5 separate regions of the Homo sapiens genome follow, and regions 2, 3, 4 and 5 are each linked to region 1. The links are contacts of gene promoters, found by promoter capture Hi-C in blood cells and fetal thymus (Javierre and others, 2016). All regions are on one chromosome and are shown on one strand. Each heading gives the region's core, a stretch centred on a gene start or on the middle of the fragment in contact. The rest is flanking DNA. Distances are from core to core; before and after follow the strand shown.

What was found. The method cuts DNA at HindIII sites, captures the fragments that hold promoters and counts their contacts. A CHiCAGO score of 5 or more calls a contact.
Region 2: a contact is called between the fragment with the promoter of LEPR here and the fragment with the promoter of USP1 in region 1, in 5 of 17 cell types (total CD8 T cells, naive CD4 T cells, activated CD4 T cells and 2 more). The highest score is 7.2, in total CD8 T cells.
Region 3: a contact is called between a fragment that was not itself captured here and the fragment with the promoter of USP1 in region 1, in 2 of 17 cell types (activated CD4 T cells and naive CD4 T cells). The highest score is 7.5, in activated CD4 T cells.
Region 4: a contact is called between a fragment that was not itself captured here and the fragment with the promoter of USP1 in region 1, in 1 of 17 cell types (activated CD4 T cells). The highest score is 6.2, in activated CD4 T cells.
Region 5: a contact is called between a fragment that was not itself captured here and the fragment with the promoter of USP1 in region 1, in 1 of 17 cell types (neutrophils). The highest score is 5.1, in neutrophils.

The regions. Positions count from the first base shown.
Region 1 is chr1:62,434,609-62,439,305 of GRCh38, reverse strand. It overlaps USP1 (ubiquitin specific peptidase 1), which reads right to left and starts at 2,257. Exons shown (of 9, transcript NM_003368.5): 1 at 1,906-2,257. RefSeq lists a silencer at 1,601-1,660 and enhancers at 2,361-2,430, 2,255-3,022, 2,991-3,340, 3,023-3,790. The HindIII fragment of the contact is 3,360 bases long and covers 302-3,661 here.
Region 2 is chr1:65,418,606-65,423,302 of GRCh38, reverse strand. It overlaps LEPR (leptin receptor), which reads right to left and starts at 2,635. Exons shown (of 20, transcript NM_002303.6): 1 at 2,563-2,635. LEPROT (leptin receptor overlapping transcript) reads right to left here and starts at 2,635. Exons shown (of 4, transcript NM_017526.5): 1 at 2,563-2,635. The coding sequence starts at 2,578. RefSeq lists enhancers at 2,132-2,181, 2,255-2,788, 2,789-3,321 and silencers at 2,552-3,051, 3,072-3,141. The HindIII fragment of the contact is 9,332 bases long and covers 1-3,691 here.
Region 3 is chr1:65,067,614-65,072,310 of GRCh38, reverse strand. It overlaps a transcript of JAK1 not described here. Among named protein-coding and RNA genes, the nearest start is that of MIR101-1, 11 kb to the right of the region's middle. The HindIII fragment of the contact is 1,674 bases long and covers 1,544-3,217 here.
Region 4 is chr1:59,805,419-59,810,115 of GRCh38, reverse strand. LOC105378758 (a long non-coding RNA gene) reads left to right here. Exons shown (of 5, transcript XR_947426.3): 3 at 2,488-2,618. Among named protein-coding and RNA genes, the nearest start is that of HOOK1, 7.2 kb to the left of the region's middle. The HindIII fragment of the contact is 4,576 bases long and covers 1-4,473 here.
Region 5 is chr1:65,048,017-65,052,713 of GRCh38, reverse strand. It overlaps a transcript of JAK1 not described here. Among named protein-coding and RNA genes, the nearest start is that of MIR3671, 7.5 kb to the left of the region's middle. The HindIII fragment of the contact is 1,707 bases long and covers 1,318-3,024 here.

The DNA.
Region 1 (4,697 bases), core at 1,008-3,507:
GGCTGAGACAGGAGAATCCCTTGAATCCGGGAGGCGGAGGCTGCAGTGAGCCGAGATCGTGCCATTGCACTCCAGCCTGGGCCATAGAGCAAGACTTAGTCTCAAAAAAAAAACAACTTAATATTTCATTATAATGATTCATTCAGAAAATATTGACTGAGCACTACCACCTCTAATTCTCAAGTACAAGGTAGGAAAGGATGAATGGAAAATCAAAGTAGTGCTGGACGATGAGTCCTCTCTTCCAATGCCTTTTCTAGTTATTAACATGGATATATGAAAATAAAGTACCTAAAAAGCTTATTAAAGAATAATTTGCATTCAAGGCATAGAGATGGTGTTAAGTTATACCTAAAACCGTAAGTGAAAGATAAAACACAAGCAAAGTTGAGACCGTGATAAAAAAAACTGTTCGATGCACTTTGTGTAAATCCAATTCTTAATGCACTAGAAACCACAATACTCGTTTTCCAAACTTTTTAAAAAACTTTGGATTTTAAAAATAGTGCTTTGAGTAGGAAAAAAAGATGATTTGGTTTGCCATTTGCAACTTTCCCACCCTGTTTTAAAGTAAAACTTGCACGTGAAAAAAAATGGCAACATTTGTAGGAGTGTAGGAGTTAATATTTTCTACATCAGGCCTATTTTTCAGGACATGGGAGGAAAAATTATCTGACTAGAGTATTACCATAAAATTACTTAAAGCCCAAAACTTCAGCAACGAGTTTCAAATTTAAAATGCAGAGTAATAAAATGAACTACACAAGACTCACTCAAATTTCATCCTTAATAAGCATTTCACATGGCTGACACTGATCTAGGAATTCATACTGAACTCAGCACACTGAAACCATTTCTGAGACCCAAATCAGGAAGCACTGGAAAGCTGATCCATCTCTCCATTCTGTCTCCAACTTCACTTACTCTCCTGTCTACCTAATGCTTCTGAGGAAGCGCTGTCTTCTGAATGATAAACCAACCTGCGCTAAGTTCTCAGGGATCGCCAAGCATTAATGATTCTGATAAAAGGTTTTTCTCGAGAGCCAATTTAATGGATGACAGAAACTGGATCTCAAACCGACAGAGTAACCAGACTACACAGAAGGGAAGAATGATTAGGCAGGTGAAATAGCGGATCGTCAGCTTAATCAAAAAACCAAACCTCCTAGCCCCTCAAAGCAAAGCTCACACCGAGAATGTAACATTTTGCCAGGTGCAGTATCTTCCTTGCTATTTCTTGCTCCTGGCTTTCCTTGTAACTGGGGGGCTGTTACATCCAAAATATTTCTCCTGTAACTAAATCAACTTTCGCAGAAAGCACGACGAATCGACCATTATCTGTTGACAGCGTGAACACTCAGTCCCAATAGTTTTAAATTCTTTATAAGATGACACGACTCGATTCCGATTTTTCAACAAAAATCTACAAGGACATCTTCGCCAAGGTTTAAGACACGCGGCGTTCTAAACACTTCTTGAAAAAGTGTAAGTGAAAGAAAATGCGCGGTAAAATTTCGCAATTACCGACACAGGGCAACCTGCGTGGAAACGTTTCTTTCTCCCCATCCTTCACCGCTCTCGGGAACGGAAAGAAAGCTGGAAGGACGAGCAGCGACCAGGCTGCCCGGTCGGGGGAGGCTGGCGGCGGCGTCCTCGGCCCACACCCCCGCGCCGGGCGCCCTCGCCGCGGAGTTGGCCTATTTACGCCCAGCCCGCACCTGCCTTCTCGCGTCCCGGCGGCGGCAAGACAGGCGCCACGCCCGAGGCACACACGGCTCCCCCTGGCAGGTCGACCAGGGTGCGAGGCCAACACGGTCCCGGGGTCTCCCCGGCAGCTCCTCTCCCGCGCCGGCCGAACTTGCCCCCGCGCCCGGGAGCCGGCCCCTCCTCCCAGGCCCTCCTTACCTGGTCATGGCCCAAAGCGAAGTCCGCGGCGGTGACGCCGGCAAGTCCAACCCGAATGAGTGTGGGTGCGACAGGTGAGTCCCTGCCCCGAGCCCGCCGGGTCCCCGGCCCCAGGAAAATCTGGTCGGCTCGCCCTCCCCGCGGGGGAGTGACCATCCGCTCCCAAGAGCGGGAACCCCGACCGCCGCTCGCTCCCGTCTTGCACCAACACCAACTACATCCCGGGAGCGGCGCCCATCTGCGCCCGCCCCGGGAGAGCCAGGAGCGCAACAAGCAGCGGCCCCGCTCGCCGAACGCCTGAACCGCTAGGGTCTTTAGCACTCCGCCACCGAGGGGAACTTGGCGCGTTTTCCTCAGTCTCAGGACCCCCGTGTTTTAGCCTCCGCCCGCGCCAGCGCTGCGATTGAACGTGGCGTCCTTTGAAATTGCCGGTTCCAGTCTCCACGCTGCAGAGACACGAAAGGCAGGAGCCGTCTCGCGACGGCCACTCGCCCCTGGCACGCACGGGCTCCGGAGCCAGCTGGGACTGTAGTTCCCCAAAAGCCTAACGGGTTCCACAGTTTCAAACAACGCAGGCACAGAGCCGGGCAGCTCGTGCGGGTCCTCGCTGAGGGCGCGCGCGAGGTGCTAGCGGCCTGGCTGGCGGGCTCGAGCCTCACACCCTTTTTTTAACCATTCGTGCGCGCGAGTTGAGGGAAAAGCGTACGGGTCGGGAGACGGGACAGAGAGCAGACGGGATGGGCCACCACCTCGAGAAGGAGCCCAAATTCACCAATCCATGATGAACAATCCCCAAAACCGCGCCTCCCACCGCCCGGGGGAAGCCAATCAGAAGTACCTAGACCAAAGCCAATTAGATGGGCGGGAGCAGCAAGCCCATCTAATAGCAAAAAAGAAGAAAGGTGGGCTCCAGCCAATCATTGTTCGACATACGGAGTGTTCCTCAGGCGCGGTGCCCCTCCTTCCGCTCTCATTGGCGCTCGAGTGCGCGCTTTCGCTGCCGACTGTTAAAATCTTGTTTGGCGTTTTGTTAATCCTCGACGGTGGGACGCCGCGGAGGGTGCGGCTTCCGGAGCGAGGCCCTCGCGGTAAGCCCCGCCTCCGTTCGTGCGTACGCGCCCGGGCGGGGTTACCAAGAGAGCAGCTTCGGAAAATGGCTGCCCGGCTGGACGCCGCCGCGCTTGGGCTTTCAGTTCGGAGTCGCGGCCACACTAGGCCTAGGGCCATCCAATGAGACAAGGCGCTGCCACGGATAACAATACATGCTCAGGCGAATGCTGTAGAGCTGAGGCCCGGTCCTCAGCCCCTGCTCGCCTCATTTTCGCCTGTTTACCTCTTCCCTTTCTCGGCCGCAGGAGGAAACGAAAGAACAGTTTCAGGCCCAGCTCCGGCCGCGGGAGCTTCCCAGGGTTCCCGCGCGAGCCCTCCCAAAGGGTTCAGGAGCGGCAGGCAGGCCTCATCTGGTTGTGTGCTTCCTTTTGTGTTTGTGTGCCTGCTTTGGTGAGGTGACCTCAGCTCAAGTGCTGCAGTTAAGCAGGATACGTTCAGCCCAAATCCATTTAATCAAGTATTTTTAAGGTGCCTACTATGTGCCAGGCATTTTTCAAGGCGCGAGGGATGTAAAGGCATTCCCTGTCATAAAGGAGCATTACATTCTGGAGAGGGAGATACAAGTGACGCTAAGATAAGTGATAGATACGATAGCCTGGAAAGACCTCTTTGAGTTGACATTTGAGCAGAGCTGAATGAAAAAGCTTGGAGGAATCTGAGGGAAGAATGGTGCGGGCAGAGAGAACAGCAAGTTACAAACGTCCTGAAGCTTAATGTGGTTGGTGTTTTGAAAAGAAGCAAGGAGGCCAGGGCGCTTAGAGCGCAGTCAATTTGGGAAATAAGATGGGAGGAGATGAGATGAGTGAGAAAGGCAGGACCCTGGGTAAGCCGAGTAAGGAGATGGGAGTCGTTAGATGATTCTGAGCTGGGGAGTGGCGGGATTACACGTTGACCTTCAAGAGTACAAGCAGGGTCGGGCGTGGTGGCTCACGCTTGTAATCCCAGCACGTTGGGAGGCCAAGGCGGGCTGATCTCTTGAGGTCGGGAATTCGAGACCAGCCTGACCAACATGGAGAAACCCCGTCCCTACTAAAAATACAAAATTAGCCGGGCGTGGTGGCGCAGGCCTGTAATCCCAGCTACTCCGGAGGCTGAGGCAGGAGAATCGCTTGAACCCAGGAGGCGGAGGTTGCGGTGAGCCGAGATCGCCTCACTGCACTCCAGCCTGGGCAACCAGAGCAAAACTCTGTCTCAAAAAAAGAAAAGTACCAGCGGAAAGGTCAGCCAAGATGCTGGTTCAATAAGCCAAGGAATAAATTATGGTAGTCTGGAATAAGATGGTGGGATGTTGAAAACTGGTAGGGTTCAAGATATATTTTGAGCACAGCCAACGAGCTCTACTGATGGATTGGCTGTATGATAATGTAAGAAAAAACAGGTCGGGTAGCCAGGGCCGGTGGACCGCTTGAACCCAGGAGTTCAAGATCAGCCTGGGCAACATGGCAAGACCCATCGCTACAAAAAACTCCAAAAATTGGCCGTGCGTGGTGGCACGTGCCTGTAGTCCCAGCCACTCGGGAGGATGAGGGAGGAGGATCCCCTGGCTGCAGTGAGCCGAGATGCACCACTGCACTCCAGCCTGGGCAACAGTGTGAGGCCCTGCCCTCCACCCTCCCACCCGAAAAAAGAAAAAAAAACAAAGAGTAACGATTTTTTTTTTAACCTGAGCAACTCAGTGTTGG
Region 2 (4,697 bases), core at 1,386-3,885, 3.0 Mb before region 1:
CTTTTCACTCCACGCACTCCTGCTGAAAACTTATGTTCAACCCAAAGCTCCTACTACCACAAGGGCCCGGCCGCAACTGATGCTCCAGCCCAGAGTAGGTCCTAAAGAACTAGGCCTGTACTTCCACCTCCAGTCTGGACTTCTCTGCCTTGACCGCCAACAAGAACCTCAAATTCAACATGTGTAACACGTGTAAAACCAAACCACTATCCCTACACTTTAAAGGTCCTATCTTAGAGGACTGACACCATGATTGCATTCCACCTTCCAATGAATCAGTAGGTCAAGGTGACTCAATCTCCCAGACTTCTTAAACTCTCTGCTACAGCCCTGGTGCAGGCCCTTAACCTCTTATTCCTGCCTCTGTGACTCTTCCAATCCATCCTCTACACAGCAGACAGTGATCTTTCAACTATATATATCACCGCTGCCATCCCTTTGCGGTTGCTTCCACAGCCTACAAGTTGTTCTGGCACGGAGGCTCACCATCGCCTGACTCACTCCTAACTGCCTGTCCAGCCAGCTTCAACCCTCACCACTAAGTTCTGGTCTTACTAATGTAGCTTAAGTACCTGAAGAGAAGAAGGCATGTTGTTTCATAAGCCCTGCGCCATGTCACGTGCTGTCCTCCCCACTTGGGATATACTCCACCTTCACTCCATGCCTTGCCAAGGGAAGCCACATTGATCCCTTCAGATTCAGTTCAAGCATCGCCTCTTCTGTGAAAACAGTCCTTTCTCTGGAGCAGGGGAATCAATCCCACCTGCATCAGCTTCCTAGGGCTGCCGTTACAAAGTACCACAAACTGGATGGCTGAGAACAACAGAAATTTATCTTCTGACAGTTCTGGAGGCTGGACTTCTGAAATCAAGGTGTCAGCAGCGCCACCACACTCCCTCTGAAGGCTGTAGGGAAGCACCCTTCCTTGCCTCTTCCTAACACTCAGTGGTTGCCAGCATGGTTGCCAACAATCTTTGGTGCTCCTGACTTTGTAGCTGCATCACTCCAATTTCTGTCTCCGTCTTCCCATGGTATTCTCCCTGTATGTCTCTATGTCTAAATTCCCCTCTTCTTATAAGGACACCAGTCATTGGATTAGGGCCCACCTTAAACCAGTTATCATTTTAATTTGATTATATCTGCAAAGATACTACTTCCAAATAAGATCACATTCACAGGTACCAGGGAATTAGAGCTTGAACACATCTTTTTGGAGGACAAAATCCAACCCACCATCTGTTCTCCCACCGCATCTGAGCCCAACATAAACACTGACATAGTAATATAATTATTTCCAGCTCTGTCACCCACCAATAACTTCTCATTTATCTTTGTATCCTAAGTCTCTGGCATACAGTAGTTCCTCAATAAAAGTTGAACAATCTGTAAAATGCTTCCTTCCCTTAGTCCGTTTCCATTTCAGACTTCCTTTTTTTTCACTACATCACAATTTTCTAACACATTCACACATAAACGTGATCATGATTTGGTAGTTTCTGATCATGTGTAGTACTGAGACACTACTTTTCATCTGTTTTCGGCATTGGCTTCAAATGGATATATAACACAGTCGACACTCTCCAAGTAAACCATGTTTACTAAACTGATATTAAGTATAAAAGTCAGCCAGAAATAACGATAAAATGTCTGCTGCTAACAGCTCACATACTCGGATAAATTCATAGTGAACAGAGGCGTACTCGTATATATACTATCTACATGTTTATAGCAGATGTTAACTGGGGATATCTTTGGGTGCAAATTTCAAGGATGATATAAAAGCCAATATAAAAACAAGTCATGCTACTCTATTCGACAGATTAGAAATGGAATGTTTTCCTACCAAAATACAGGAAGCCTTGCAAAAAACCTTTTCCGTCTCGCATTGCTCTGAAGCCATACAGATAAGGGACGCGGTGTTTTTACCAACTGCCCCATGCAAAAAACACATACTACACACACACTGGTTTCTTCTCTGTCCATAAACAGAGAAAACACCGAAGAAAGCAGTATTAAAATTACACGTAATCTACTCTCCACGACTGCGAGAAACACCGTCTTTCTGGGTGCTTTCCATTGACACCCGCCCGCGGTCAACTCTGCCCAGTTGGAAAAATCATTAGGAAAAAGAGGATTAAGTTTCCCAATGCTAAGAACGCTGGAGACAAAGGGTCCTTTGTGGCAAATAGGAAACTGCGGAGGGGCAGAAAACCAGAAGAAAGGCGTTAGGGTGGCGTCAAGAAGTGGAAACCTTGTTTAAAAACTCAGGAGAGGTGGAGGGCGCCGCTCTCGCCGAGGGCTCAGGCTGGGGAGGGGTCTGGTGCCGCCACTGGAGAGCAGGAAGGCCAGCGGCCTTGCAAAAAGGGCCAAGGCTCCCCCGAAACGCCGCTCCACCCACACCCCAAGGGACGAAGGGAGCGGTCGATCGCCTCCCGAACCGGAGAGGCGGGAAGGGTGGTGAGGCCGTTCCCCAACGGCGCGCGGAAGGCGCAGCCCCAGGCTTGACCGGAACGGAGGTGGCAACCCCACCACACGACAAGCGAGCCGGGGACCGCGATGTACCTTTAACGCCCGCCATGTCTCCCGAACTGGGGCCGCGGCTGCTTCCGGCTTCCTGCCACGGCCCGGGCAGCCTGCCCAAGCCAGACCGGGAGTCGCCCCGCGGATCCCGAGCCCGCCCCGGCCACGCAGAGCCCCGCCCCCGCCGGTGCAGAACTCCGACCTTAGCTCGCAAACGCGGCGCCTGCTGCTCCAGACCCCGCCCCCACCACTCACAACCCCGCCCCCGCCGGTGCAGAACCCCGCCCCCAGCTCGCAGAGGCCGCGCCTGATAGTTCAGACCCGGCCTCGCTACTCAGAGCCCCGCCCCTGACAGTACAGAGCTCCTCCCCTACCTCGCGGAGGCAGCGCCTGCGGCTCCAGACCTCGCTACCGCTACTCGAAGCCCCGCCCCAGACAATGCAGAGCTCCTCCCCTAGCTCGCGGAGGCCTCCCCTGCTGGTCCCGCCCCAGCCCTCACCGGCCCAGAATTCCGCCCCCAACTCTCAGAGGCCGTCCCTGCTGGTCCCGACCCCGCCCCCGCCACCCAGAACTCCGCTCCTGCCAGTCTAGAACTCCGCCCCCAGCTCGCAGAGTCCATCTCCAGCCCTAAGGTCCCACCTGGTCCCACAGAGCTTTCCCAGAGTAACCCCAACCCAGTGCCCTGGGCCCTCCTCCTAGATCCTGAGCCCTCCAAGTAATCCTCAAGCCCGTTCAATGTGGGTTGGGACCTTGGCTCCGCCCCGACCGCGGGCCCAGAGTCTCTCCCCGGCCTCTCAGAACGCAGTGCACGCAGCGGGGGATCCTCCCTGAGCCTTCCTGAGAACGGAGATGTAGAAAGTGGGGAGAGGCAGGAGAGGGAAGGAGGGGAAAAGTTGCAATCGATGGGAGAGGGACACCGACTCACTAACCAGTGTTATGTTCCCTGAGCTCCCAAGTGCGTGCTAGTGTGCGAGTGTGTGCCTGTCTGCCTTCACATGACTGTGGCAGAGGAGAGGCGGGGTACCAGAGGACAGGCCCCTTAGGAAACACTCCTCATTAAGAACTTGATATTTGCATAGGTTTGCTTTGCTTAATAGCAACGCTTTACTGAAACTAGCGGGGTTTTTCTTTACTCCCTGGTTTATTTATAGAGACGAAGACCATATAAGCTTTTGTGTCCGAAGCTTTCATGAACCTTAAAAAAAAAAATAAAAAAAAAAAGCTATTATTTTTGTGCCTTGGGGCCTCAAAGTTTGCAGGTAACCAAGGCCAGTTTTTAGATCTCTGAGAGCCATTGTGTACTTATCTTACAGGAATGGAGAGTTCTGTTTTGGCAAAAGCAATCTAGAAGATCATTGAAACAGTCTGGTCCAAATGCTTCAACTTACATTTAAGGAAAGAGGTGCAGAAAGGATAGGACTTGCCTGTCACACAGCTCTTTGGAGGAGGTTGGATTCTGGGCCACTTCCCCTCATTCTAGCTGAGATCCACTCTACCTGATGGTGCCGTCCCTCTTCTCTTGCTTTTTCTCCGTTTTCAAAAGGACTGAAAGACAAAGGAATCTGTGGAAACCTAGCTTCCCCTGGCTACCTGAGAAGTATAAATTCTCACCACCATCATGTTTCATGATCCTTGCTCAGTTTACTTTTTCAAAATTGCACATTGAGCATGTTACTGTTTCAAGAAATGTCTATTTGTTGATTCAGTGGAGTATTTTTCTAGCTGTCAGTTTATTTTTCTAGCTCCTCTCATTTCTCCTCATAGACGGATGGCACACTCACTGAAAACAGCATTGTAATACCTGACTCACTGCTGATGCTTGGAGATCCAATACTACAGTACAGCACTTTTTACTTTGGAGCCTTCAATCTACTCAAGAGCATTGGCAGTGTATGCCACTTTGGTTTAAGGATTATTTTGAGCTGAAGGCAATTAGGAAGAAGCAAATAGGTACACGGTACTAGAAAAGCACTCTGCCCTCCCTCTATTTGCCAAAAAGCAGGATATAAGTTTACGAAGGTGTACCTCCTTCCTGCTCTACCAGGAAAGACAAAGATTAATCACCAGAGACAATTTTAGACCCCTGTCAGCCTGGAGACAACACAAGAAAAATCTACATGATAAACCTTAGTATTTGGCCTTCATCTGCAACTAGTCTCCCATATATTTGTTTTCCG
Region 3 (4,697 bases), core at 1,131-3,630, 2.6 Mb before region 1:
TTCAAGAGCTACTCTTTGTTTTTGTTTTATTTGAGATGGAGTCTTGCTCTGTCGCCAGGCTGGATTGCAGTGGCGTGATCTCGGCTCACTGCAACCTCCACCTCCTGGGTTCAAGCGATTCTCCTGCCTCAGCCTCCTGAGTAGCTGGTACTACAGGCACATGCCACCACGCCCAGCTAATTTTTTTTTTTTAAGTAGAGACGGGGTTTCACCATGTTGGCCAGGATGGTCTCTTGACCTCGTGATCCACCTGCCTCGGCCTCCCAAAATGCTGGGATTACAGGTGTGAGCCACTGCGCCCAGCCTACTCTTTGTTTTAAGGAACAAAAAAAAGCTCTGGTGGAGCGTAGAATATATTTATTTATTTATTTATTTTTGAGACGGAGTCTCGCTCTGTTGCCCAGGCTGGAGTACAGTGGCGCGATCTCGGCTCACCGCAAGCTCCGCCTCCCGGGTTCACGCCATTCTCCTGCCTCAGCCTCCCGAGTAGCTGGGACTACAGGCAGCCGCTACCATGCCCGGCTAATTTTTTTTTTTGTATTTTCAGTAGAGACGGGGTTTCACCATGTTAGCCAGGATGGTCTCGATCTCCTGACCTCGTGATCCGCCCACCTCGGCCTCCCAAAGTGCTGGGATTACAGGCGTGAGCCACCGCGCCCGGCCGAATATATTTATATATACATAATATAGTGTCAGGCCGGGTGCGGTGGCTCACGCCTGTGATCCCAGCACTTTGGGAGGCCAAGGCAGGCAGATTCACGAGGTCAGGAGATCAAGACTATCCTGGCTAACACGGTGAAACCCCGTCTCTACTAAAAATACAAACAATTAGCTGGGTGTGGTGGTGGACGCCTATAGTCCCAGCTACTCGGGAGGCTGAGGCAGGAGAATGGCGTGAACCCAGGAGGCAGAGCTTGCAGTGAGCCAAGATCGCGCCACTGCACTCCAGCCTGGCTGACAGAGCGAGACTCCATCTCAAAAAAAAAAAAAAAAAAAAAAAAAAAATATATATATATATATATAAACACACATATATATACTGAGTGTCTTGCCCAAATCCTGTGTCAATCACATACTTCTTGAGGAAGCTAGAAAGATATGTGTATATATCAATCTCTCAATAGACTAAGCTCAGTATCTCTTTCACTATTGCATCCCCTGTAGGTAATCAATAAACATTTGATTCTTAGATGATGAGTTCCATAAGGGCAAAGTCTGTTATCTTCATCATCTTTGTTTCTTTAGCACCCCACCCAGGGCTGGGAATAAGTTTCTCAGAAAATAGTTCTTGATTAAAGTGGTTTAATTAATTAACAACCAGAAGTGCTTCCTATTAACTACATTTCTCCAACATTACTTCAAAGGTACAACCTGGCATATTTTTCACATGAACGCAAAAGAAGCTTGCCTCTTATAATGGATCAGAAAATTGTTTCTTAAAGCTGAGGAATTATACTGACTAGATGGAGTTTTAAAGATAGTATTCCTCATTTATGTGAAAATGTGAGATTTTTTTTCTTGAATTTTCCTGCTTCCACAAGCTTTATCATTGTGTCGATACTAGTAAATCTTTAAAAAAAACCCAATCTTAATTAAATACAGCTCAGGTAGATCATCATAAACTGGTACAAAGTGGTCTTCTCTTTCGGTTACCAGTATCAGTCTAGTTCCTTGTATCTGTATCTCTTCCAAAGCTGAAGTGTGAACTTTTTGAGGCCAGGAACTATTCTGATTTATCTTCATAGTCACAGAACTTTCATTAATAGTAGGTTTATTGAATTTCCAAGGTCAGGCAGCCAAAAGGGAAAGAATAATTCTGGGAAGTGCATGGGGTAAATAAAATGCAGTTTAAAAATTATTATAATGACCCTTTATTGAAGATTATTTTCCGAGTATCATGCTAGGTGCTTTACATATGTCTTAATACATTTTGATTACACTTCAATTCTAAAAACTCTTGAGCTAGCTGTTATAATGCTCATATTATGGGTAAAGAAACTAAGAATCGCAACTGATAAATAACTTGCCCAGACTGACACAGTTAACAAATTGGCAGAGCTGAGATTAGTACCAGACTCCAAAGTCTGTGCTCTCACCATGACTCCAGGAATTGTCATTTTCAAGTACATATTGGAGAGAGGAAGACTGGTGAGGTGCTTATAAGAACTTCCTTTAATCAGCCACTACATGGTACCTCAGAAGACTAAAGTTTGATTTTTTAAAAATGTGTGAGTGCACATGTGTGTAAAACAAGAGGTATGGAGGTATTTATTATAACTATATGTTTTGAGCCATGTTCTTTTTTTTTCTGTTCAGTTTTGTATTCAAAAGAACAAATGACTTTACATATATAATTAGACTTCATCTCCACCTTGACTGCAAACTGATGATATACTTAAATTACTATCACACTGTTGTTATCAAGGATTAAACATATGGGTTGTAGATGTTACAATCATTCATACCAATTTCATTTACCCCATCCAGAGGAATACATGTAGATCATGTTCAGATATGCAATGGAACCTTATCAGTCCAGATGTATAAGAACTGATCTGTGACAATCCAGATCCTCCTCTGAGCTGTAATTGTATACGGCAGTTATTCTGTTTTTTGTTTGTTTTGTTGTCGTTGTTGTTTTTGGTAAACGTGTACTTTTTGCCTGATGCTAACATCTTTTCAACAGTCCTCTTTTGCCTGCTCAACCGCCAGTCTCCCAGTTCAGTGATCCCAGGAAGAATCAGAGTCTTGTCTGCCCATGATGATTTGCTTCCAGTCTGCACCAGGTTAAATCACACCTTAAACTTTATCAAACTTTTGGAGTCTAAAAGCAAAAGCAACTCACAAAGTGCAAAGGTTGGCATAACTAATTTATTCATATGAATCAGAAAGAATTTAAAGAAGAGGAACCAAATATGGTAAAACGAGGGGCGGGGCGGGGCGAGGGGGGAAGCAGTTGATTTAAAAAATTGAGAAAAGCAAAACATGTTTTGCCTGGCTTTGTAACTAAAGAAGACTGCCAAAAATGGTCTGCAGAGGTGTAAGAATCAAAAAGCATCTCCAGTGTTCTACCTTCACCAGAAACATGCAAGGAATTTCCTAGGATGGAATTATGGAAAAGATCCTCTTCAGGCCTTCATTTGCTCATTCATTGCTAGTCATGGTGCTAAATATGGGAGATATAAAATGAGTATGGCATGGCCCTGGCCTCAAAGCTTACCCTAGTGGGAGATACAGCAACTGTGCCGTACGCTGATCTGTGAAAGGCACCAGAAAATAAATGTAAAAACCATACAGTGGATGCACAAAGGGGAGAGTGGTCAACTCTGTGAGTCTAATAAAAATAATTCACAATAAGCACATAGCGATGTTCCGTGAGTCCCGTCCCCACCCCATCCTCTTATAGCCAACCCCTAAGAGAAACGACAGGTGAGCAGGGCGCAATCCAAGCTGGGCTCTAATTAAATGTGTGCCCTAGAGCAACTCCTAGCACTACTCAGAGTCTCCGTTTCTCTCCCTGTAAAAGCCAGGAACCCTGCTCAACTATGAAGTCCATTTCTGCTCTGAATTAAGAAATAGAGGAAAAAAAAAAAAACCAGAAAGGAAACTCACGAAAAACAAAAGTGAAAGTGCCTGAAGGGAACCCAGTAGTAAACAAGAGTACAAAATTCTATATCTCACCGGAAAACAGTGGCAGAGTTCCCAAATATTTTTTTTTCAGCAACTGTGAACTTCGGAAAGAATGAAATGTCTATCACTCCCTTTGAATGTGAATAAGATCAGTGTAACACGAATCCACCTTGCTCTATGCAACTGTCTTCTGAAACAATCCTCTGACCCTGAACACCACTTATTTAAATAAGCGGTTCTTAAATCAATCAATCCGTAGTGAATGGTCCATCCCCACAAAACCAATCCCCATTGAAGACCACACCAAGTTGTGCCCCACTTTGGGAAAAGGGGGAAAGCGGGGGTAGAGAAAGAGGGGAAGGATTGGAACCAACATTAGATTGTGCCTGGTGTTGCCACGCGGTTGTCATAAACAACGGCGTCGAAGCAAACTGTTTTAAAACTTAGAAAATACGGCGGCCTTTAAACTCTATTATGTCCCTGCTCATGGCAATAGTGGGACTTCTCTGAACGTAGCCCACAACGGTACAGCCGCCCGGGAGGGAAAGCGAGCTCTGGGGCGGACAGGCGAGTGAAGGCAGCCAGAGGAGGGGAGCAGGCTGACAGCTCCCCCAGCTTCCGCGGCGCGTGGGGGACCAGGACGGGCGACCGCCACAATCAGAGGGTGCGAGCTGGACCCACCGGGGCCACTGGTCTCCAGGGTGGGAGGATGGCTGCTGCCTGTCCGCTGCCGGAGCCTCCTTTCTCCCAGCAGAGGAGGGAGAGCGCGCGCACGTACACACACTCTCATACACACACGCACGCACACACATCCTTCCCTTAGAGTTGTGTCTCGTCTCCCTTTTGTTTTTCTCCCTTCCCGGTCATGAGACCCGGAAGTTTTTTTTTTTTTTTTTTTTAATCCCGTCTCTCTCCCTTTTCCAACCCCCCCGCCATCTATCACATGGCAGAGATAGAATAAAAACAGAAAAATGGCGACGGTCACGTTGTGGCGAGCCTTGCTGCGTCATTAGATAATCCTCATGCAAATAGCGGGAAGAACAAAGGAAGGGGAGCCCGGGACCCCC
Region 4 (4,697 bases), core at 936-3,435, 2.6 Mb after region 1:
GAACTGCAACATAGGCTCAATCTCAGCAACCGAGACAGAGGTAGCCAGAATGATATGAGATCCACCATAGGGATTAGTTTGCTTTTCTGGATGATGCCCACAAGAGTGGTCTGCAATCAAATAGGCAAAGAATTATAGCAAATTGCAAACTCAGGCTACCTCAAGTCAATATCAAAGTTCAGAAGAAGCTGAATGCAGCAGCTGTGACAATTTTCAGAATCTGGGAGGTACTTTGGAATAATAGTTTCCAGGCCCCGAGGGAGGAGATTTATATGCCCGAGGCAGAGTCACAGAAAGAGAGACAGGAATGAAAACTGACGTTTTACAACACCTCCTTGTTCTTAGACCTGTAAACACAGTGGGCACAAATACCTAAGGTGTATTTGAGCTCCATCAAATACCATACTAGGGTTTAGGGAAGCAAGACCAATCCCAGACATTATGGGTAAGATTTAGCTTTCTGTTAATGGAACAACCTTGACCATAATTGACTTGGATCTGAATGTTTAGGTAATGGGACTGGGAAGATAGGGACAAATATCCTATGGATATTTTCAGCCAGCATAACTATTAAGGTAGAGACTGGAGAAAGGTGATCAAGGATGTGGATTCCTTCCCACTGTGTGTAAAAATGAATATTCATTTATTTTTCACACTGGCTTGAAACTCACTCTTGCTATGAAATTAATATTAATTTAGGAACTGTATGAGATACTGGAAATTTTACTTCTAGGGCTGTTGAAGACTTGAGTTACATGGATTTTATATCACTTAATGAAACTGCCTTTTAATGCATTTTACTTCCAAGAGATGTTATTGCCAACCTGTTGGGCTGCCCAAAGAGAGATTACTCTAAGGATTCAATGGAGAAATTGAAGCCAAGTGCAAGTTCAAATTAAGGGAGACGACATCTCTGTCACTAGAGAATGCGCATCCATAGAGCAAGAGATTTTAAAATTGTACCATAAACAGAAAAAAAAAATCTTAACTTCGAGGACTTTTGTTATTGCAGCCTGTTGTAAATTGGATTTTCCAGGAAGTAGACCCTGAGATGGAGATTAGCATGTTGGAGGGTTATTAAGAAATGCTGTTGGGAATAACAGCTGTGAGAGAGGAGGGAAGGAAGAAGTAGTGGGCAGAGGGAGAAAGCAGGTTGTGGTGCAGGCTCAATGAAAGTCTTGACTTATCCCTGGGGAGTGCTGAAGCTGGAATGGTCCTTCCAAGTTGTTCCAAGTTTGAATGAGGGGAGTTGGTCTGTACGCTTCCATGTTGACAAATCATTCATTGCATGTGGGCTGCCCTAGAGAGGTGACGTGGCAGCCTAGGCAATTCACAAAGAAGGCTGATGGCTGATGGCTGTCTGCTGAAAGCACTCCAAGATGCTGGAAATATCCAGGCAGCACACCACAGTATACTCTGTAAGGCAGTAGCACCCACAGTAGCTTTGGGTGGGGATGAGGGTGCCATCACTCAGAATGGGAAAGCATGGTGTTTAAGTGTGGACAAGTAGGACTGAAAGTGTGGCAATAGGTATCATAACCACAAAGTTAAAATAGTCACAGAGGAAGAATGTTGGCATCTTTGGTTCTTGGATTAGAAGCCTCCAAAATGAGGAAGGATTTTAGCCATAGTTATAATTTCACTTAGGGGCTTAGTGTCAAATAACTAAATGAATGACACCTTGGAGGATTTAAGACAGGTTCCTGGGGAAACAAAAGTTACAAAAAAGATAAATCACAATACAGAGTAATCTTATCAATTATGTTTTAAACTTACAGGGAAGAGTGTTTAGCTTGCCATTTATTAAGTAAAAATAAATGTAACCATTTGATTTATTAAGCATATATAAACTCACCCCAAAGCTCTAAATCAAACATAATCGCACATAATTTATCTTGTCCTTAATAACTCCGATGAGAAAAAATTTAAATAGCAAGGTAAATGTAGCATTTATTTTCAAATACCTAAAAACAAGTAAAAATAGGCATTTAGTAAAAATGTACCGATAATGTAACCAATCTAAAGTATCATTTAAACGTATAAATCATGGAGTTTATATCTCAGTTTATCTGAGTGAATCACAAGACCTGTCATCATTTTACACTCTGTTGGAAGAGATGATCCATGGTTCTCATTCAGTTGGTGACCTATTTTTTATGTACAAAAATCCTTCTAATCCATGTAAGCAGGTTTTTAAAACAAAGACCAAACAGTGACACATAGTGAGTGTCTAATCATTTAATCCACAGATGTTTGTCTCTAAAAAGCAAGAATTACAATATAACAAAGGGTACCTCCTATTGGTGTTTGTTTGTTTGTTTTTGAGACGAGGTCTCACTGTGTCACCCTTGAGTGGAGTGGCATGATCCTGGCTCACTGCAGCTTCAAACTCCTGGGCTGAAGTGATCCCCCCCACCTCTCTCTCCTGAGTAGCTGGGACAACGGGCACGTGCCACCATGTTCAGCTAATTTTTTCATTTCTTGTAGCGATGCGGTCTTCTTATGTTGTCCAGGCTGATCTGAAACTCCTGGGCTCAAGCAATCCTCCTGCTTCAGCCTCCCAAGTGGTGGGATTACAGGTATGAGCCACCATGCCTGGCTGCTCCTATTGTTTTCAGGTGTGTTGAAAATTAATATTTTAAAAATTAAAATTATTTAATTACATTATATGTATGGAAAATAGATACAATCACATTCACAAGACTGGTTTCACAGGTTTAATAAGAACATAATGTTTAAGGATGATAGAGATCACTATGTTAGAAATAGTGATTATTTTTTATTACCGCTTGAGAAAAATACATTTGAAACTGTCGTTACAAAATGTGGCATTCTGAAGCCTCTACATGTATATCAGTTGAAAATACATTGAAGTGATATTTGCCTAAGGAGCTAGAATATCTTGCTTTCCCTTCATGTGTTAGATAAGTATAGCCTATATATAATATAATACATCTTAAAACGTCAAAATGTTAGAGGGAAGAAGTTTATCCGATCATTTATGGACACTAGAAAAGGGGGCTTCTTAATCATAAGCATTAACAAATTGGGCTATAAGAACAAAGAACAAAAATGTTCCGGAATGCCAGGAAAGATGTGCAAAGGGTTTACTAAACGCTCTTGCAGAAAATTCCTTGAAGCTCATGGCTAGTAAAATGTTTGAAACGATTTAACCCAGTAAATGAGTACTTCCTAATGTGATTTGGGAATATTCCCCAAAGATCTTTAAAACAAAACGACCAAGAAATAATGAAAAACAAAACTATTGGGTAGGACCTAGCCTTATACAGAAAAGAGGGAGCTGCACATTTCATTAAAGGATTTGCCACTATAAAAAGATTTCCTTCCCAGCGCTTTGGGAGGCAGAGGCGGGTGGATCACCTGAGGTCAGGAGTTCAAGACCAGCCCGACCAACATGGAGAAACCCCATCTCTACTAAAAATACAAAATTAGCCAGGCATGGTGGCACATGCCTGTAATCCCAGCTACTCGGGAGGCCAAGGCAGGAGAATCGCTTGAACCTGGGAGACAGAACTTGTGGTGAGCCGAGATCATGCCATTGCACTCCAGCCTGGGCAACAAGAGCAAAACTCCGTCTGAAAGAAGAAAAAAAAAAAGTTTCCTGGCCAAGCGCGGTGGCTCACGCCTGTAATCCCAGCACTTTGGAAGGCCAAGGCAGGAGGATCATGAGGTCAAGAGATCGAGACCATCCTGGCCTGGTGAAACCCCGTCTCTACATCTCTACTAAAAATACAAAAATTAGCCAGGCGTGGTGCCGCTGGCCTGTAGTCCCAGCTACTCGGGAGGCTGAGGCATGAGAATCGCTTGAACCCGGGAGGCGGAGGTTGCAGTGAGCCAAGATCATGCCACTGCACTCCAGCCTGGCAACAGAGCGAGACTCCATCTCAAAAAAAAAAAAAAAAAGTTTTCTATGAACACAATTGGTGACTGAGAACATATCCAATCATAAAGCTATAAAAAAAAAAACAATAATAGCTAAAACATGCAGCACTTATTAGGTGCTGTGCACTATTCAATGTACTTCACTTACACTAATTCATTTATCCTTAACAACCTGATAAAGTAAGTAATATTTTTCAACTTTATCTTACTGATGAGGGAACTGATGCATCAAGAGGCACCCAAGCTCATACAACTAATAAATTGCATACCTCATAAAACCTCTTTCCAGATGTGAAGAAGAGATTCATCCTTGGGGAGATCAGAGCTGATTTTTAAAGACAATCATTGCAAATAAAACATAACATATACAATCCTTCTTCAATCATTGCAGTTTCTGTATTTTCCCTTGTTACTGAAATAGTTCTTCAGGGAGTCAGCATTGTTTTTGTTCAACACAGTGAAACAAGAAAATCCATTGTGTCTAGATGAGTGAAATTAATGATTACCTATTGAAGAATCTACTGACTGAAGGTTCATGACTACAGTAAATGAGCTTGAATATGCTAAGCTTTTGGCATTTTGTATCTGAAGATGAGCTTGAATTATTTTTACCCATTTTTTAATATAAATCTCAAATTTTTCTGAAGAATAATTAAGTTGGCCATTCGGATTAAATAACTGGACTACCTGTGAGGCCGTATTTTTTAAATGTACAAAGTCCATTTTTAGGTTATAATCACCACATTGGTAGAGAGATAAAGAGAGAGAGGGATGCATATAAATAATTCAAGAGT
Region 5 (4,697 bases), core at 922-3,421, 2.6 Mb before region 1:
GCCTCCCAAGTAGCTGGAACTACAGGCACCCACCACCACACCCGGCTAAGTTTTTTGTATTTTTAGTAGAGATGGGATTTCATCGTGTTAGCCAGGATGGTCTCGATCTCCTGACCTCGTGATCCGCCCGCCTCGGCCTCCCAAAGGTGCTGGGATTACAGGCATGAGCCACTGCGCCCAGCCTGATTTTGTATTTTTAGTAGGGGCGGGGTTTCACCGTGTTGGTCAGGCTGGTCTTGAACTGCCGACCTCAGGTGATCCACCTGCCTCGGCCTCCCAAAGTGCTGGGATTACAGGTGTGAGCCACCATGCCCGGCCTAGTCATCATTTGTAACCACAAGAATTCTTCATGAAGCATGAACGAGTTAGGTAAGGGAGGCACCAAAAGTCCATTTTGTATTTTTCTTTCATATTTAAGACATGATGAGTGTAAGGATTCCCACTGGAGGAGATTGCCAAGTACAAGAATGTGTGCCTGAGCTGGGTGTGGTGGCTCACATCTGTGATCCCAGTACTCTGGGAGACCAAAGTGGTCAAGACCAGCCTGAGCAACAAAGTGAGACTGTCTCTACCAAAAAAAAAAAAAAAAAAAAAATAGCCAGGCGTGGTGGTGCATGCTTGTAGTCCCAGCTCTTCCGGAGGCTGAGGCAGGATTGCGTGAGCCCAGGAGTTTGATGCTGCAGTGAGCTAGGATGGTGCCACTGCACTCCAGCCTGGGTAACAGCCAGACCCTGTCTCTTAATAAACAAATAAGCAAGCAGGTATGGAACATTCTCAGCTGGGTTCTTTAAGCTGTCTGACAAGGTTTCGGGTTGTAATACATGCTTCTAATGTAAATATGTTAAAATGCACATAATTGAAATGGAGTAAAGTAAGCTGATTATACGTTGCTTTGTGCATTTAGACTATTACTGTATTTTATTTTCCATGAGATTATGAGGAGATTGATGATGTTAAAAGGTGAGAAGAAATAGAGAACCATTTCGATTTAGTCTGTAGAAAATGTATTTTCACTTTTTTGCTACTATCTTTGTAAATGAAATTGCAGAAAAATTACTTAGACTCCCATTGGTTTTTTTCAATTTGAAAATGAGTATCTTCGAACCAGGAATATCTTGGGGTCCACTGGGGGCTAGCTGTCTAGGGCACTTTGCTGGGAAGACTTCTGAGACCACATCTGGGCTCTGCAGGAAGGAGTGCTGTAACCACCTTTCTGGGTCTACCTGTGATCAACCCGGGTGTGCTGTGGACATCAGACTGAGGAGGAGTGCTACATTTGCTGATACCTTAGTATGCAGTATTGGTAGTGTAGAAGCTTAGATCCTCTGGAATGGCAGAAATTCCCAGATTTATATTGATAGGGACTAGATTTCTGGAAAACCATATCACTGGGAATATAGACACCCTTTTTTATGGAGAGGGAATTATGGATTTTTAATTTTAAAAGTCTAGTGTAATATATAGTGTATATTGAGACATGAATCTTTCCACTTATCATCATTCACTAATTTCTGTTAAAAAAAAAAAAACCTGACATACCTATCAGGTCTCAAGCTATTCTAATAGCACTAGTCTAATAGCATAAAATTTGCTACTGTTAAATAAATGCTTATCCCCTGCATAATTTACAGGTAGAATTTTAAGTAATTGGATCAAATAGCTAGAAGAGGCTTTCCCTTTCTCCTTTTATTTCCTTAATTGTATTTGCTTGAGATGAGTCAATATTTGTTGAGCGCCTGTGTACCAAAGCACTCATTTCATCCTCATTGAAATCCTCAAAGAGTAGAAGAGTTCTCCATGTTTCCTAATTGAAGAACCTGAGGAGGCTCTCAGGCTCCCAGTGGGTCCCTAAGCCACACAGCTAGTCAGTGATGAAGCAGGCATTTGAGTCCAGAAACAATGTAAGAAGTTAATATTATGTTGATTAGTAGGTGAGGCTTCGAAACAGAGTTAGACCCAGCATGTGTAAAATTGCTTTAAAATTTGCACCATACACTGCCTCCCCTGTCCACTGTTGCCTTTTTCTGATGCCTTCTCTACTCTTCAGCTGGAGTTACCTCTGTAAAATGAAAGTTTGATCATGCCATCACTTAAAAACCCTCTGGTTTAAAACACTCTAGTGGCTTCTCCTCTTCAGCTGCCCCATGATGCCCTGGGCAGTGTGGTCCCACCTACTCCTCAGGTCCCATCTCTTGTACCCAGTTGACTGGCCTGGCCTTTGTCAGGGAATCAAGTCCTTTCTGTGTCAGATGCATTTCCTTCTGCCTGGGACACCCTTACCATTCAGTTCACCTTACCTCTTATCCTTCAGTTTCTGGCTAAGTACTGATTCCTCAGAGACCTTTTCCTGACATCCTGCCTAGGTCTGATCTCATGGCACTTTGTGCTTTTCCTTCAGAGCACTTGTCACAGTTGAATCACGTGTGTTGCGGGTGCATATTTTTAATGTCTCGTTAGATGGCGAATTCTGTGAAACAAGAAACATGGCTCTACCCATTGTTGTGTTTGCAGTGTCTGGCATAAGCCTGGCATGGAGTTCACAGTAGAAAACTAGTGTACTATGAGATGTGAGTGGAATGTTTCCTGTTTGCTAAGTATGGGTGAGAAGAACCCACAGCTAAAAACAAGGTGTTCAAAATCCCCACTTTCTGTGGTCAGAGATCTGCATCTCTGCGGCATTTTCCTGCAGAGCTTTTTCAAAAGGTGTCATTTCAGCAGAACCAATTCTCACATTGCCCCCACCCTTCACCCCCATAAAAAGATGACTGGAGGAGGGGGAGATGTCACCTTTTGTGGGAACTTCTCTCAGCGAAGCGGAGCATGCGAATTTGACATCATGATTGTCTGAAAATTGGTAAGCCACTATCCCAGAAAGAGCTCCCTATGCCCAGGGCTTGCAATGCTAAGAGAAGGAGGCAGGAGAGAGACAGGGAGCGACACTACATTTGGTGGGGTGAGGATATGAGGTTCCTTGGACATCATGGCCTCCAGTGAATATGTGGGTGATGGCTTGGAACTTAAGCTTTTTTGCTAGTGCCCCACAAAAGAGTACCCTCCACAACCCATCTGTGGACCACAGCAGTGCCTCTCAACAAACATGTGCCCCAAGGAGTGAGTTAGAATATGGATGGTATCCCAAAGGAAGGACCCGTGGCCAGTCAGAAAGCTCATGCCCACCAAGGTGGGTGGTTCTTCTAGGGACCAACCTCTTTTGAAGTTCGTGAAGAAGTGAGTTTTTGTGTAGTCTTTTTGTTGTTGTTTGGGTTGTGTTTTTTGTCATTGTTGTTTGTTTGAGACAGGATCTCACTCTGTTACCCAGGCTGGAGTGCAGGGCCACGATCATGGCTCACTGCAGCCTCAAACTTCTGGGCTCAAAGGATCCTCCTGCCTCAGCCTCCTGAGTATCTGGGACTACAGGTGTGCACTACCTGGCCGGCTGATTTTTAAATTTTTCTGTAGAGACAGGATCTCTCTTTGTTGCTCAGGCTGGTCTCAAACACCTGGCTCCAGGAGATATTCCCGCCTCAGCCTCCCAAAGTACTGGGATTACAGGCATGAGCCACCATGCCAGGCCTCGCCCTTACTCCTTTTGAAGTCCAGGTGGTTACAGCTGCCCCTGGAAGGGGCAGATTGTGGATGCAAGCCCCCTAACAGCAGAAAAAGGCTATTGACAGTGAATGAGGGACTTCCAATTCTAGAAATAGATCCCGTTGCCTTAGGGGTGGATAGTGGACAAGGTACTAACACCAATAAATGCCTCAAAGATTTCATTTGCTTTTGAACTTGCAGAAATGGGAGTGAAGTGATTTCTGATTTTTCCCTTGGGAAAGCAGAAAGAAACCCTTCCTCGTACAGCTGCTCCCATGAGAAAAAGTTCAACAGAAAACATATTAAATGCCCATTTCCCAAGACTCTCAATCAGAGTGGTAAGAAGCAAAGGGACGACGCTACAGAGGTGTCTGGGAAACTCAGGCTGATTAAAGGTAGCCTCCTTGACTTGCAGGCTCTGTGAAGGAAAGCACACCTCATAAATCCTTTTGGACTGTTTTTTGGCTAAACTCTCAGATTTATACGAAGAACTATTTTAAATGAATCAGCGTGTCTTTGTTTGCATCTTCTGAGATTCTGAAGACTGCAGCCAAGGAGCTAGTAAGGCTGAGAAATGGATTGAGCATTTAATCGGTTGAATACTTCCTTATGTTTTCCTCGTGTGTTCTCATAACAAGCGACCTTAGTCCAACTCCTAGTAACACATGATTGTGGAATGTGCCCTCCTGAGAAATACTGCCTTATTTTTTCATCCTGAGCACATTGAAAGTCTCTGAAAATGCAGATGAGCTTGTTTGGACAATGGTAATAATAATATATGCTAGCGATACCTGCTGTGTGTCTGGTATTTTACATGTTACAACTGAGTGTCACAACAGCCCTGGTCAAATGCAGGGAAAATGAAGACCTAGAAAAACTAGGTCACTTACCTGATGTCACTCAGTTCAAGCCCAGGTTTCTGCATTTCTAAATTTTCCACAGATTCTTATCAGCATCCTTGACAAATGAGGCTATGCCAGAACCCCCAAATCATGACATTTTCATTGATTCTTTTCTTCCACCTGCAAACAACATCAGGATCTACTCCTGTTTGGTTTTTTTCTTTGAATATACGTCACCTATTTAATAATTCAGAAGTGGGATGATGC